Regions from separate parts of the Homo sapiens genome. Here all the other regions are linked to region 4. Evidence: promoter capture Hi-C in 16 types of primary human blood cells and fetal thymus (Javierre and others, 2016). All regions are on one chromosome and are shown on one strand. The core of a region is centred on a gene start or on the middle of the fragment in contact, and the rest is flanking DNA. Distances in the headings are between cores, read along the strand shown.

Region 1 (2,895 bases), core at 138-2,637, 460 kb before region 4:
GCATAAAATGAAGGGACTCATGAACCGAAGCTGGAGAAATGCCATGATTGTTTATGGGTACTCACATCAGGGCTGGGGACAGCATAGCCTCCAGCTTTCTACCACACACCCCAGAAAATGGACGGCTGCCTTGAGGACCCATCTGCCAATTTCCTCGGCAGTGTTCAACCTTAGTCTTCCAGAAGGAACAGGACAATATATGGGGCCTCCACACTGGCTTCTGCCATTCATGTGGGCCCGTAGGCCATCGTCAGGCTGGCTCACACCCTCATGAGGTTAGCACAGCCACCTCCACACCAAGCCATTTTCTCAGGGCCCCGTGCTGGTGAGGCAGAGCCATGCAAAGTAGCCAGCTCTTTACTGGTGTTTCCTAAACACGTTGAATGAATGCACACAGTGAAGCAGGAGGGTGTGAGCGGTGGGGTGTGCTTTCCATCACCAGCCCAAAGCTTTGTCTGCTAGATGTAATTCCTACATTCACTTAGTGAGCAGGGCAATAGACTCGCCGTACTAAGTTGGAACTTTGTTGTAATTTTGGTGCTGAGTGGGGTGAGGCTTAGGGGAAAAAAAAAACCACCTTAGAGCCGTCTTTCAAATACATAGCAATAAGAATCAGTTCATGACAGATAAATGACAATAGTGAGATAAGAGTTTCCATAGACTAGTTTGCACAGTGTGAGTTAGGGGGATGCAATGAAAGAAAAATGAAATGGCAACAAATGAGAGAAGCCCATTTTCTCCATCATTACCAGTGCTTTTCCTTCTATAACAATTGTAATAAGTGACTTAAGAGTTTCCCATTTTCAAAAAGGTACTTTTTTCTTTCTTTTTTTTTTTTTTTTAAGAGTCAGGGGCTTGCTGTGTTGCCCAGGCTGGCCTTGAACTCGTTGGCTCAAGTGATCCTCTAGCCTCAGCCTCCCAAGTTGCTGGGACTAACTTCAGGCCCACAGTACCATACCTGGCTTAAAAAGGTGCTTTTGCTGCATTCCTCATTATTTTCTTTCAGACGCCCCTTAGTTCCTTCATTTGTAACAATGACAATATTTACACTTACATAAGGCTTTAGTATTTAAATTACTGCAAATACATGACCTAATTTGATTGCTGGAGAGGTAGGTAAGGCAGATACCAGAAACCCACACTTTATAGAAATTCTATCTTTTTTTAGGATGAGTTCATGTCCTTTGCAGGGACATGGATGAAGCTAGAAATCATCATTCTCAGCAAACTATCACAAGGCCAGAAAACCAAACACCGCATGTTCTCACTCATAGGTGGGAATTGAACAATAAGAACACTTGGACATAGGGTGGGGAACATCACACACCGGGGCCTGTTGTGGCGTGGGGGAGCGGGGAGGGATAGCATTAGGAGATATACCTAATGTAAATGACGAGTTAATGGGTGCAGCACACCAACATGGCACATGTATATATATGTAACAAACCTGCACGTTGTGCACATGTACCCTAGAACTTAAAGTATGATAATAAAAGAAAAAAAAATTTTTTTTGAGACAGAGTCTCTGTCGCCAGGCTGTTCCAGTCTCTGCATTCCAGGCTGGAATGCAGTGGCGTAATCTCGGCTCATTGTAACCTCCGACTCCTGTGTTCAAGCGATTCTCCTGCCTCAGCCTCCCGAGTAGCTGGGATTACAGGCATGCACCACTACACCTGGCTAATTTTTGTATTTTTAGTAGAGACGAGATTTCAGTATGTTGGCCAGGCTGGTCTCGAACTCCTGACCTCAAGTGATCCACCCGCCTTGGCCTCCCTAAGTGCTGGGATTATAGGCATGAGCCCCCGTGCCCGGCCTGAAATTCTATCTTGTGATAACATGTCAGGGATGAACTCAAAATACCCTTTGATGAATGTTCACATGATCAAATGGAATTCTTCTTCTCTCCCCTGCAGTGCCAGTGGTGAGGGGACTCTCAGGTGTTATCCTATAAGGTCCAGAACATGTTAACAGATGCTTTGTGTTTTGCTTTTTTTAACCATGGAAAGGGGAATTGGGAATTAGATGGACATTGAAGACAGACTTCTCTCCCAGCAAAACTATATGATTCTGGTTATCCATCTTAATATTTCTGCATGTCAATTTCCCATGGAAAATCAGGCTCATCACAGGAACCAGCTGTCATCACTTCTACTGTCTTACAAAGCGGAAACACAGCTTCTCGGCTATACTTGACAGTGGTATAGGAGTTTGCTATCATGTGTTTACGAAAATACAGTGATAAGAAACTTAAACACTTTGTTTCTTCTGGGAAAGTGAAGGAAGGATAAAGAGTGAAGCCCATTTCCACCCAAAGTCTAAGCTTACCAGCAGGTGGTGCTGTGACAAAAGCAATCAAGAGAAACCAAGGCAGGCAGGTGGGGTTTCTGGGTCCCAGAGATCGGCTCTGCTACCTCTCATCAAAGCCAGTGCTCGGGAGCAGGAGCGAAGGGCAGGAAGCTTGAGGGCAGCACAGGGCGGGCAGCATGCGCTGGATCCAACACCAAACAGTTTCTAGGGTCCTCGATCAGGGGTTCTTCTCCTAGCAAGGCTCACCACAGCTCTCCGCTTCCCGTTTCATTTCTTCCTTTCTCTCCCCTCAAAGCCCTTTCCCAATTATCTGGATTTCCAGCAGGAAGCAGGGAATAGAGCAGGCGGGAATGCCCTTCTCCCTAATACTTACCCTGCAGACACTGTGGCTTCAGGGATCTTCAAATATTAAGCACTTTAATATTCAGAAAGCACTTTCAGTTGTATAAGCAGCTCTACATATACTATTAGATGCTATCTGGATAAACAGAAATGCAAAGAAACTCCTCAGAAATAACTGAGGCAGCTCCTATGCAACCGCATGGAGACCTATCAGCTAAGTCTATGCCACTTTGGTCACTCAACATG
Region 2 (3,222 bases), core at 175-2,674, 320 kb after region 4:
AGATTAGAGCTACTTTGGTCATGAGACATTATTCTTCAATAACACCATTATTATTTCTCTAAAAGTTTTAAAGAACTCATTTATTCAACAGGGAGACTCTTGGGGGAAAGCAAACACACACTTTAATTTTCAACTTGGCATTATCATGGCCGTTGAAAAATATATTTTCTAATTTTTTCTAGTTCCAAGCCAACAACTTCATATTCTCCAGGAAAAAAAAGCTCTGATATCTTTTAATATAATAAATATGATGTCACAAAAGAAAAACAATCTCTCAATTCATTAAAATCTACTCCATCTTGTCAGAAAGAAAAATTATTTATGGAAGAAAGTAATTTTAACTTTGACTGGACTACCCTATATGTACTTTGGATTTTAAGACTAGTAACAGGTTATATTAAAGCTTCAAGGTAAATGTGCTTCTTTAGATTAAGCCACAATTCTTTTCCAGGAGAAGCAAATGCCTTTTGTTTTCCAAATGTCCTAATATACAAGAAGAGTTTGGGAAAATTAGCCTCTTTTATTAAGAATCTACCATATTCTAATATGAAGTATTTTAACTACAGAGCATTTCTTCAAATACCAGGATGCCTATTGTGTAACTTCTTAACAATTCACTTTATAACTCAGAAACAAATAATCAGGTACTTTCATCATAGTTGGTAAACTGGTAAAACCTGTTCATAAGTTTTATCAAGTCTGAGAACTAAACCTATTATACACAGTCGTGCAGATTGATGTTTTAAATCACATACAAAAGTAGTTTTATTTATATTTACATTTAATATTTTAGTACTGCTGAAAAATGTTTTTACTATAATTGAAAAACTTAGTCTCAGATCCTTGAAAACTACATGGCACTTTAAGAACCAAATGCATCAGAAAAACGGACCAGCTGTCGACTAATAAAAGAGTATTGGGTAATTTAAATATTTATTGAACAACTACTGTGAACTAGGTCACTGACAGGAATAGCAAAATAATTTTTTTAAAGGACATGGATATATAAGTCTAAGTAATCATGTTTATATATGCTTACATTTGCATTAATGTTTTTGTAAACATCCACAATACATTATTAATAATAACTGACTCTGAGAAGCAGAAGTACATTTTTCACTACATATTTCTCTTTGTATTATTTGAGCTTTTTGTTTTTACTTTTGGCATTTTCCCCCATAATTACATTTAATATATACTTTAATATGGGCACTTTATAATTTAAAAATCATGAAAGTATCCAATTCACAATTAAATGGAAAAAAAATCAAGCAATTCGCTTTATATTACAATTCTTTCAGTAAAGACGATTTATTCAACCATGCTTAAAAAAATCTGTCATGAGAAAGAAATTTATAATAATAAATTCAATAAATATAAAGATATTGCTAATAACAGACTTACTTTAAAAGTAATTCTATTTAAACCTGAGGTTGTGTGTAAACATTTTAAAATGTTATTCAAGGGCCGGGGGCGGTGGCTCACGCCTGTAATCCCAGCACTTTGGGAGGCCGAGGCAGGCGGATCACAAGGTCAGGAGATCGAGACCATCCTGGCTGAAACGGTGAAACTCCGTCTCTAATAAAAATACAAAAAATTAGCTGGGCATGGTGGCATGCGCCTGTAGACCCAGCTACTTGGGAGGCTGAGGCAGGAGAATCACTGGAACCTGGGAGGCGGAGGTTGCAGTAAGCCGAGATCGCGCCACTGCACTCCAGCCTGGGCAACAGAGCTAGTCTCAGTCTCAAAAAAAAAAAAAAAAAAAAAAAAAAAGCAAAGAAAAAACAGTTATTCACTTAAGGTGGGATCTCAGAGATGTATGTCAAAGAAAGAGAACCTATAAGGCTACTCTAAAATATGAAAGTTAAAAAAATAAGACTATAAATTTTCTACTTTGGAAATAATATAAAATTCATTCAATACTAATGAAAAGTTTCTTTTATGTGGGCACTGTATTTATAAACGTCAGAGTAAAACCACAAAGGTACTCTGCCTCCTCCCACTCAAGGTCAGTTCTGAAATTATTTGGAAGGCTTGGTATAGCAGTAACCTTGGTGATAAAGAAAGGAAAGATGTGAAACACTTTAGAATACACATGATACACCAGAATAGAAAGGCTAATTTCTGGATAGACCAGGATCTTGGTCTATCTCTCCATTAAAAAAAAAAAAAAAAGTTGGGGACAGCCTTTTACTTTTAGCAACTGCGGCACTCACATTTATATTTTCCTGATCCTCAATTCCTCTCCAAAGATGGGGCTAATTTTTCACTGACCTCTATGTCCAAAATATTTGAGAGCTAAAAGGAATTAAGACAGTACAATCCCCTCATTTTTACAGATGAGAGAACTGAAGCTATGTACTTATGCAGTATTTACTAAGCCATAGTGAGGAGTACAAAGATAAAACTTCGGTAAAACTTTGTCCTTGCCTTAAGGAAGCTTATGAATCATTGGAATTAAGTCATATACAGGGATAACAATAATACAATTGGCTTACTTTATCTTAAAGGTTAAAAAATTAATCTGTGAGCAAGCCAGAAGTAGAATTCAAGCCTCCCAGTTTGCAGCCCACTGTCTTTTTCTCTTTGTCACAGGGTTTCAGAAAGAGTGGAACTTCAAAGTCAAGATTTACACTTGGGAAGAAACTTACATGCTGAAACTTTATTGACAAGCTAGTCACTTAAAATTTCTATAATACAAGATGACTTTATCATATGAAAAGCTATTAGTAAAGAGAATGATTATTGTTAGTGATGACAACAATAGTAATTATTATTATTAACATTCTTTTTGACCACTTATTTTATGCCACATACTTTACACAGATAACCTTTCATAACAACCCTGTGCTAAAGGAGTCATTACCATCTGCATTTTACAGTAAAGGAAACAAAGACTATCCAGAGTCATGCAATGAGGGAGTGGCAGAATAGAAATATGAACTCAAGCTCTCCGACAGCAAAGCCTGAGCTCTAAACCATTGGTTCTCTTGAATAATATGTAAGAGCATCCAGGTTCTGATCGCCTAGATTCCAGGTAAGTTGGGTTTGATGTTGTGAATGGCCTCAGAAACAGAGCTTTGATGGAATCTTGCTCAGACAGAGTTGAGGAAATCGGATATAAAGTAAAAGGTTAATTTTCACAAGAAAATATTCCCAACTTATAAATGTTTAGGAAACTACTACCTAAAGATCAATTCTTTAACGTAACTTCAATATTTA
Region 3 (3,064 bases), core at 374-2,873, 270 kb after region 4:
CATCTCTCAGCATGTTTTTTATATCTTTACTAAATATGTAAAAATCTCTCAAATCCTTGCAGTTCACACTAGGAGGCACTTTCAACAAATCAACAAAGTCTACTACAAACTCTACTACAAATGGACAATGACTCTCGTGTCACTATTTGTTTCACTCAGAGAAGAGCACTGAGAGTTTTAACAGGAGGAACTACAAAAATCTCTCTGGCAATTAGAAAATTTGTCTGGGATATGGTGAGGAAACCTAAAATCCTGGCATTCCTATTTCTTTGAAGAAGTGGGAAAAAAAGGATAATAAAATAAGAGAGTGAACTTTAAAAGTACTTAAAAATTGCATTGCTCTTTTTTATGCTAATAGTTAATATAATGTACACCCACTGCTGTGCCTTGATTTCACACAGAATATTTTCCAGTTATGATAAAGAGTGTTTTAGCTTCATGGCTGAGGTTAGGATAAAGAGCTACCAATATACAAATTCATGCTCCTCCTCTCCTACTTGTACTAATATTGCAATTTATAAAATTCTTAAAACATAAACTTGTTTAGGTCCTTTTTACATACAATAACTACGATAAAATAAAAATAAAGGCAGATGACATGGCTATTTGCATAAATTTACAGCATGATTTGGTATGTAGAGCAAGGCTTGAGAGACATTTTTAAAAAGTCTGGTTTTCACTTTTTAGAAACAAAAATACATGCAATTTTAGCATATCTTAAAACACATTTAGGTTGGTGAATATATAACATCTTTTGGTACAGCCTCATTTATTTACTTTTTAGGCTAAAAATTGCCCTAAAATATCTTAAACTATTTAAAGGGACTTGTTGGTTGGTATCCACACAAGGCAATATGACAGAGGAAAATAAGCTTCAAGTGGGCATTTGCTTTATGCTGATTTAGGCAAGGGTCAACTGTGGCAATCAGTTTTAGTATGCCACAGGGACCCCACCAGAGCATTGGTCAGGAGGCATTACTCTATTTAAGTCATGAACACACTGAGAAACTGCCAATGTAGAGACATTTTGCTGCTATCAGTGACAATGGGGTACGCAGAAGGCAAACATAGATCCGCTGAGGAAACATTGTATCTATTATTAATACTGCTTAGTATTCTAGGATCAGAGTAGAACAGCCTATTTATCCTTTGAGAGCAAGGGATGCTCATCTGTCTTGGAACAATAAATAATAAGATGCTCAAAACCATTTGCATCAATCTGTATGATTTATCACAACAATAAGGCATTTTCTTCCACTAGAAAAACATTAAAAAAATTTCACCGTGCCTAGTTCCTGGTGAAGGTATGGGAAAATAAAAACTCCAAGGTACTGTTAGTAGGAGTATAAATCCACTGGCAATGAATGCTGTCTACTTGGTTTCCTTGAAGTGACATTCTCACTCCATCCAATTTCATGAAAATGTCTGCCACATACCCAAGTCTGAAAAACCAGTTTGACTGTAAGTGTTTCTGTGAAGTAAAATTGGTGTCCCATTAAAAAAAAAGCAGCTAGTTGAGCTCATAACTCAAACAACTGCCTAAGTGCTTTTCCTGCAAATGGCTATAATTTTTCAGTATGCAGCAAAGGGTTTTTATATGAGTACTTTCTATTTTGTCTCACAGAATATTAAAAAGATGCATGCTTCACAGGTCAAAATTTAGTAAAATAAATAATTTTACTGATTCAGCAAGCTCCTTTTTAGGTGAAATTGGCTTTTTCTGCAAAAGCATGGCAGTAAAGAATACAATCATTATTATAATAGTACATTTGGGTGCCACTGCCCTGATTAGTGCTAATGCAGCAGCATTTTTGCCCATCCCTGCTTTTGCACCAACAATACAAATTTCAACACAGTGAAAGAGACAAAAAGTGTCTTATTATTATGAAAACAGTTTTCTCCTCATGGACCTTTTTGGAAGGATCTCAAGGAAACCCCCAGGGTCCTCAGACCACACTATGAGAACTGCTGATATAGTTTAATATATTTATACTCATCCAAAATCAGTGGTAATGTACCTATGTGTCTGCAATGCCATACTGTACTAATGTGAGTCTCTTTTTTGGATCATCTCTTTTCTTTATTAAGACAGCACATCTAGGAGACATTTGGATTAAAATCTATAAGACACTCAAAAAAAGGTTTTTCTATTATTGGAAAAATAGTTTAAAGAAAAAAAAAAAGACAATCTTACAGGAAGGTAAGGTGCCAGTGCTCCACAGGATTCTGCCACAAGCAGTCGTCTTTCTGGGTATTTGTGATTAATCTAGAGCAAAAAAAATAAATAAATCAAGCATAAACAGCATACCCTCCCTTCCTTCAAAAGAGAATTACATTTCACCACAAATCCTGTTAAGAATGCAATAAAGCTTCTTCCTTTTCCACTTCTGGGAATCCCTGTTTGACTATACCTGGATCGGGAATGAGGGAGTGAGGGAGAACCTAAATATGAGGTTACAGGGGTCATCTGTTAAAGAAAAAAGGGAAAACCAAGATGAAAATTTGGCAAGGTATCTAGAGATTATGGGCTTGCCTAAGAGTAGGCCTTCCTTAGAGTAACAGGAGAAACCAGGACCTTTCCCTAGCAAGAGTAGAATATTTTTAAACTTGGAAAACTCAGCTTCTGGATCTTATAGATACGGTCTATAATATGTGCCAGTCTTCTTTCTTCAACCTAAGGGATGAGGAAGGAAGTTAATCAATGATTTGACCAGAACCCTTGCTAGAAATATGCTTTTATTTATAAAGTAAGCAGACTTCAATCCATTCCTCTGTTTGCAAATGCAAAATGATGGGGTTTTGCTATTGTGATGACTACACTGAACCATAACCAAAAATAACAAAAAAAATGACACATACTGGGTTTTGTTCCCATATGTCTTCTTCATAGAATATAAATCTTTCTTTGACTGGAAAAGGAGTATATTTGTTCTCATATTCCCATATGAAAAGGTGACATAATTCATTAATGTATTGGATGCCTAAAATTAAGAAAAAAAATTATATAATAATCTACTGGGCAACAAACTGGAGGTAGGCGGCTAGATAGATCCCCGATATCCAA
Region 4 (2,777 bases), core at 267-2,766:
AACGGAGCGGCCCAGCGAGACGAAGCTCAGCCCTCTGGCGCTGGGAGCTGCCGGGTGGGGATTCCGAGCCACCTGCGCCGGGCTGGGGCTCGGGCAAGGGGCGTCCGAGAGCGAGGCCGGGGAGGCCGCCGGGGCAGCGATCGCACCGCGAGTCCAGGGAGGCTCCGTGCGCCTTACCTGGGCCCTGGGGCCGGCAAACTTGCACGGCTCTACCTCCACCTCCGCGTCCTCGGGGCCCCCGCGGAGCGCGGCGCGGAGCCTCTCCAAGTGTTCCCTCAGGGTGACCCGCTGGTGGAAGGAGAAAGCCGGGTGCAGCGAGGCCATGGTGAAGAGCAGCAGCAGTTCCTCCTGGGCCCTGGAGCCAAGCCCGCCGCCGACCCGGGGCTCCACAATGCCGCCTTCCGGGCCTGAGCCGTCCTTCTCGGCGTCCTGCTCGCCGTCGCCGTCCTCGCCGCGCTCGTCCTCCGCGCCGCCCCGCGAGCCCTCGCCCCGGGCCGCGCGCAGGCTTTTGAGCACCGAGTCCACCTGGGGTAGCAGGCGGTGCAGACGGCCAGCGGCCTCCCGGTTCTCCGAGCCCAGCAGCGCCAGGTAGACGATGAGGCGCGAGCGCACCGCGGGCTCTCGGAAGTCGGCCAGCGGCCCCGGGTCCGAGAGGCCGTTGGCCTTGGCCTCCGAGTCGCGCAGGTAGTGGTAGTCCTTGCGCGCCAGGTCCTCCAGGCACGAGCCAAGGAAGCGCAGCTCCAGCGGGTTGCACAGGTCCAGCAGCCCGCACATGAACTCCAGGCGCTGCGCCGAGCCCAGCACCAGCCCGAACCACTCGTATACCCGCTCCTGCTCGCGCAGCGCCGCCGAGGGCCCCCCGCCGCCGCCCGGCATACCCGCCCCCGCCGCCGCTCCACCAGCAACAGGCGGCCCGAGTCCCCGGGGCGGCGGCGGCGGCGGCAGAGGGCCCCGCGACGGGCCCGCGGGCGGCGGCGGCGGCGGCGGGGGGCGGCAGTCGCGGCGGCGGCGCGAAGGCGCCTTCGCGCCCGGCCGCGCGTCCGCCTCGGGCTCCTCCGCCTCGGGCGGCGGCTCCGCGGGGTGCGTTGGCTTCAGCGGCAGCTTCATCCTCAGCATCCTCGGCTAGGGCGGCGCAGACATGCGAGCGGGGGCGGGCGGGAGGGGCCGCGAGGTGGAGCACGGGCCGAGGCGGCGGCGCGGCCGTCAGGAGCGGGGCCCCTCCATGCCGCCGGGGGAGGGCCGGGGCCGGGGGCGGGTCTCGGCCGGCGAGGGGGGCGGTGGCCGGCCGGCGGGGTCGCTGGCGTCGTCTTCCCGGGCTGGGGGCGGGGCGTGCCCGCGACGGCTCCTCCCCCTGGGCTCCTCGCCGGTTCTGGGAGCCCGGGTGCGGGTGGGAGCAAGCGAGCGAGGGTGTCCTCCTTCCGCCTCCCTCTCTCCGCCGTCCGCGCTGAGCCGGGGCGGCGGTGCCTGAGCTGTTCCCTCGCGAGCCGGTGAGGACGGAGCGGCTGGGTGAGGAGGTGGAGCAGCCGGGCCGGGCGGAGAAGCTTGCGGGCTCCGCGCACCTCACCTCCGCCAATCAGCACCGCGAATCGACGGTGACGTCGCTCTCCCCGCCCCCTGGGGGGCCGCCTTTCTCCAGGAAGCCACGCCCAACTGCTGGCCGGCCGCCTCCCTCTCGGCGGCTTCCGTGCGGTCCTAAAGGCTGGTGCTCGGCAGGAGGAGGACGCGGGCTGGGGCCGTGGGGCGGCGTGAGGGTAGCCCGGGAGCGGTGAGGAGCGTGCGAGGCCCACGTGAGCGGAGGGACGCGGCCGCTCTCACCTTTCCTGAGGGCCCTGGCCCGGCTTTGGACTCCTGATTCTCCTCTGCTTGCCAGCTGCCGCCCCGCCTCCGCCAGTGGTGCCCGGGCTGCCTGCGCGGCCGGAGTGAACGCGTCCCGGGAGCAGGGGTTTCTCCGAAGTGAGTGCGCCAGCCCCGGGACGAGCTCGTTCGAGTCCTCACCGCCCAGTGCACTTCCTGAAAGCCGGCGGTGGGCTGTCTCCCACCTTGTGAAACTTTGCCAGGTGTCGCTCACAGGGGACTGGGTCCGGACGCGGGTGGCGGCGCTGGTTTGCGGCCCCGGTTTGCGGCCCCGGCGCCGCGATCCCGGGCCGCGCCCACGCCCAGGCTGGAGGCACCGTGCGCAGGTGGGGACGCGCGGCCGGGAGGTGCGCAGCGGGACCCGGCCGGCCGAGGGTGAGCGCTGCTGGGGACGCTCCTAGTCTGTAACGCTCTGTGAAAATTATTTCCTGGATAGTTTAGGAAAAGCCTCTCCCTTCCCCGCCCCTAAACCTCTATCTTTTGGGAATCATTGATTTGCTAAATGACATTTCGGTGCCTAACCCATTTTGAATCCTTGTTCTGCTGTGAATTTCATGTGACTGGAGGAATTTAATAAGCTACCAACTTGACAGGCTTTAAACTTAAAAAAAAAAAGTTTTGTTACGTTTTTCAGATTTAGGCTTCCAAGATGTTTACACTCGCACTGTTACTTTTTTTTTTTTTTTTTTTTTTTTTTAGCAACATAGTCCAAATTTTTAAAACTCAGCTGGATCTTTTGAGGGTTAATTAAAAGGTGGGTTAAAAAAAATCTTAAGACTTTAAATTTAGAAGTCCTACTACAGCTATGTAGTAGGAGTATGCAGAAAGATAAGAATCACATTGTAACTCTTTGCGGTGGTGCTGGAACATCTGTTGGGAGAGCATATGCTGAACTCTGTTCACCTCACAAGTTTATGTCCTAA

Evidence for each region. Contacts are between HindIII fragments. The CHiCAGO score rates a contact against its expected background, and 5 or more counts as called.
Region 1: a fragment that was not itself captured here is called in contact with the fragment with the promoter of ZCCHC2 in region 4 in 5 of 17 cell types (fetal thymus, endothelial precursors, naive CD8 T cells and 2 more); the score reaches 8.2 in fetal thymus.
Region 2: a fragment that was not itself captured here is called in contact with the fragment with the promoter of ZCCHC2 in region 4 in 1 of 17 cell types (megakaryocytes); the score reaches 5.2 in megakaryocytes.
Region 3: a fragment that was not itself captured here is called in contact with the fragment with the promoter of ZCCHC2 in region 4 in 1 of 17 cell types (megakaryocytes); the score reaches 8.3 in megakaryocytes.

Annotation. Positions count from the first base shown.
Region 1 is chr18:62,982,288-62,985,182 of GRCh38, reverse strand. No RefSeq gene overlaps it. Among named protein-coding and RNA genes, the nearest start is that of PHLPP1, 270 kb to the right of the region's middle. The HindIII fragment of the contact is 1,871 bases long and covers 452-2,322 here.
Region 2 is chr18:62,199,516-62,202,737 of GRCh38, reverse strand. The region is part of intron 1 of RELCH (RAB11 binding and LisH domain, coiled-coil and HEAT repeat containing); the gene reads right to left. Among named protein-coding and RNA genes, the nearest start is that of RELCH, 14 kb to the right of the region's middle. The HindIII fragment of the contact is 2,037 bases long and covers 406-2,442 here.
Region 3 is chr18:62,254,609-62,257,672 of GRCh38, reverse strand. RELCH (RAB11 binding and LisH domain, coiled-coil and HEAT repeat containing) reads right to left here. Exons shown (of 29, transcript NM_001346231.2): 13 at 2,195-2,266. Among named protein-coding and RNA genes, the nearest start is that of RELCH, 69 kb to the right of the region's middle. The HindIII fragment of the contact is 1,497 bases long and covers 875-2,371 here.
Region 4 is chr18:62,521,764-62,524,540 of GRCh38, reverse strand. It overlaps ZCCHC2 (zinc finger CCHC-type containing 2), which reads right to left and starts at 1,516. Exons shown (of 14, transcript NM_017742.6): 1 at 178-1,516. The coding sequence starts at 1,116. RefSeq lists silencers at 1-232, 1,123-1,622, 1,653-1,922, 2,153-2,262 and an enhancer at 234-807. The HindIII fragment of the contact is 5,111 bases long and covers 1-1,543 here.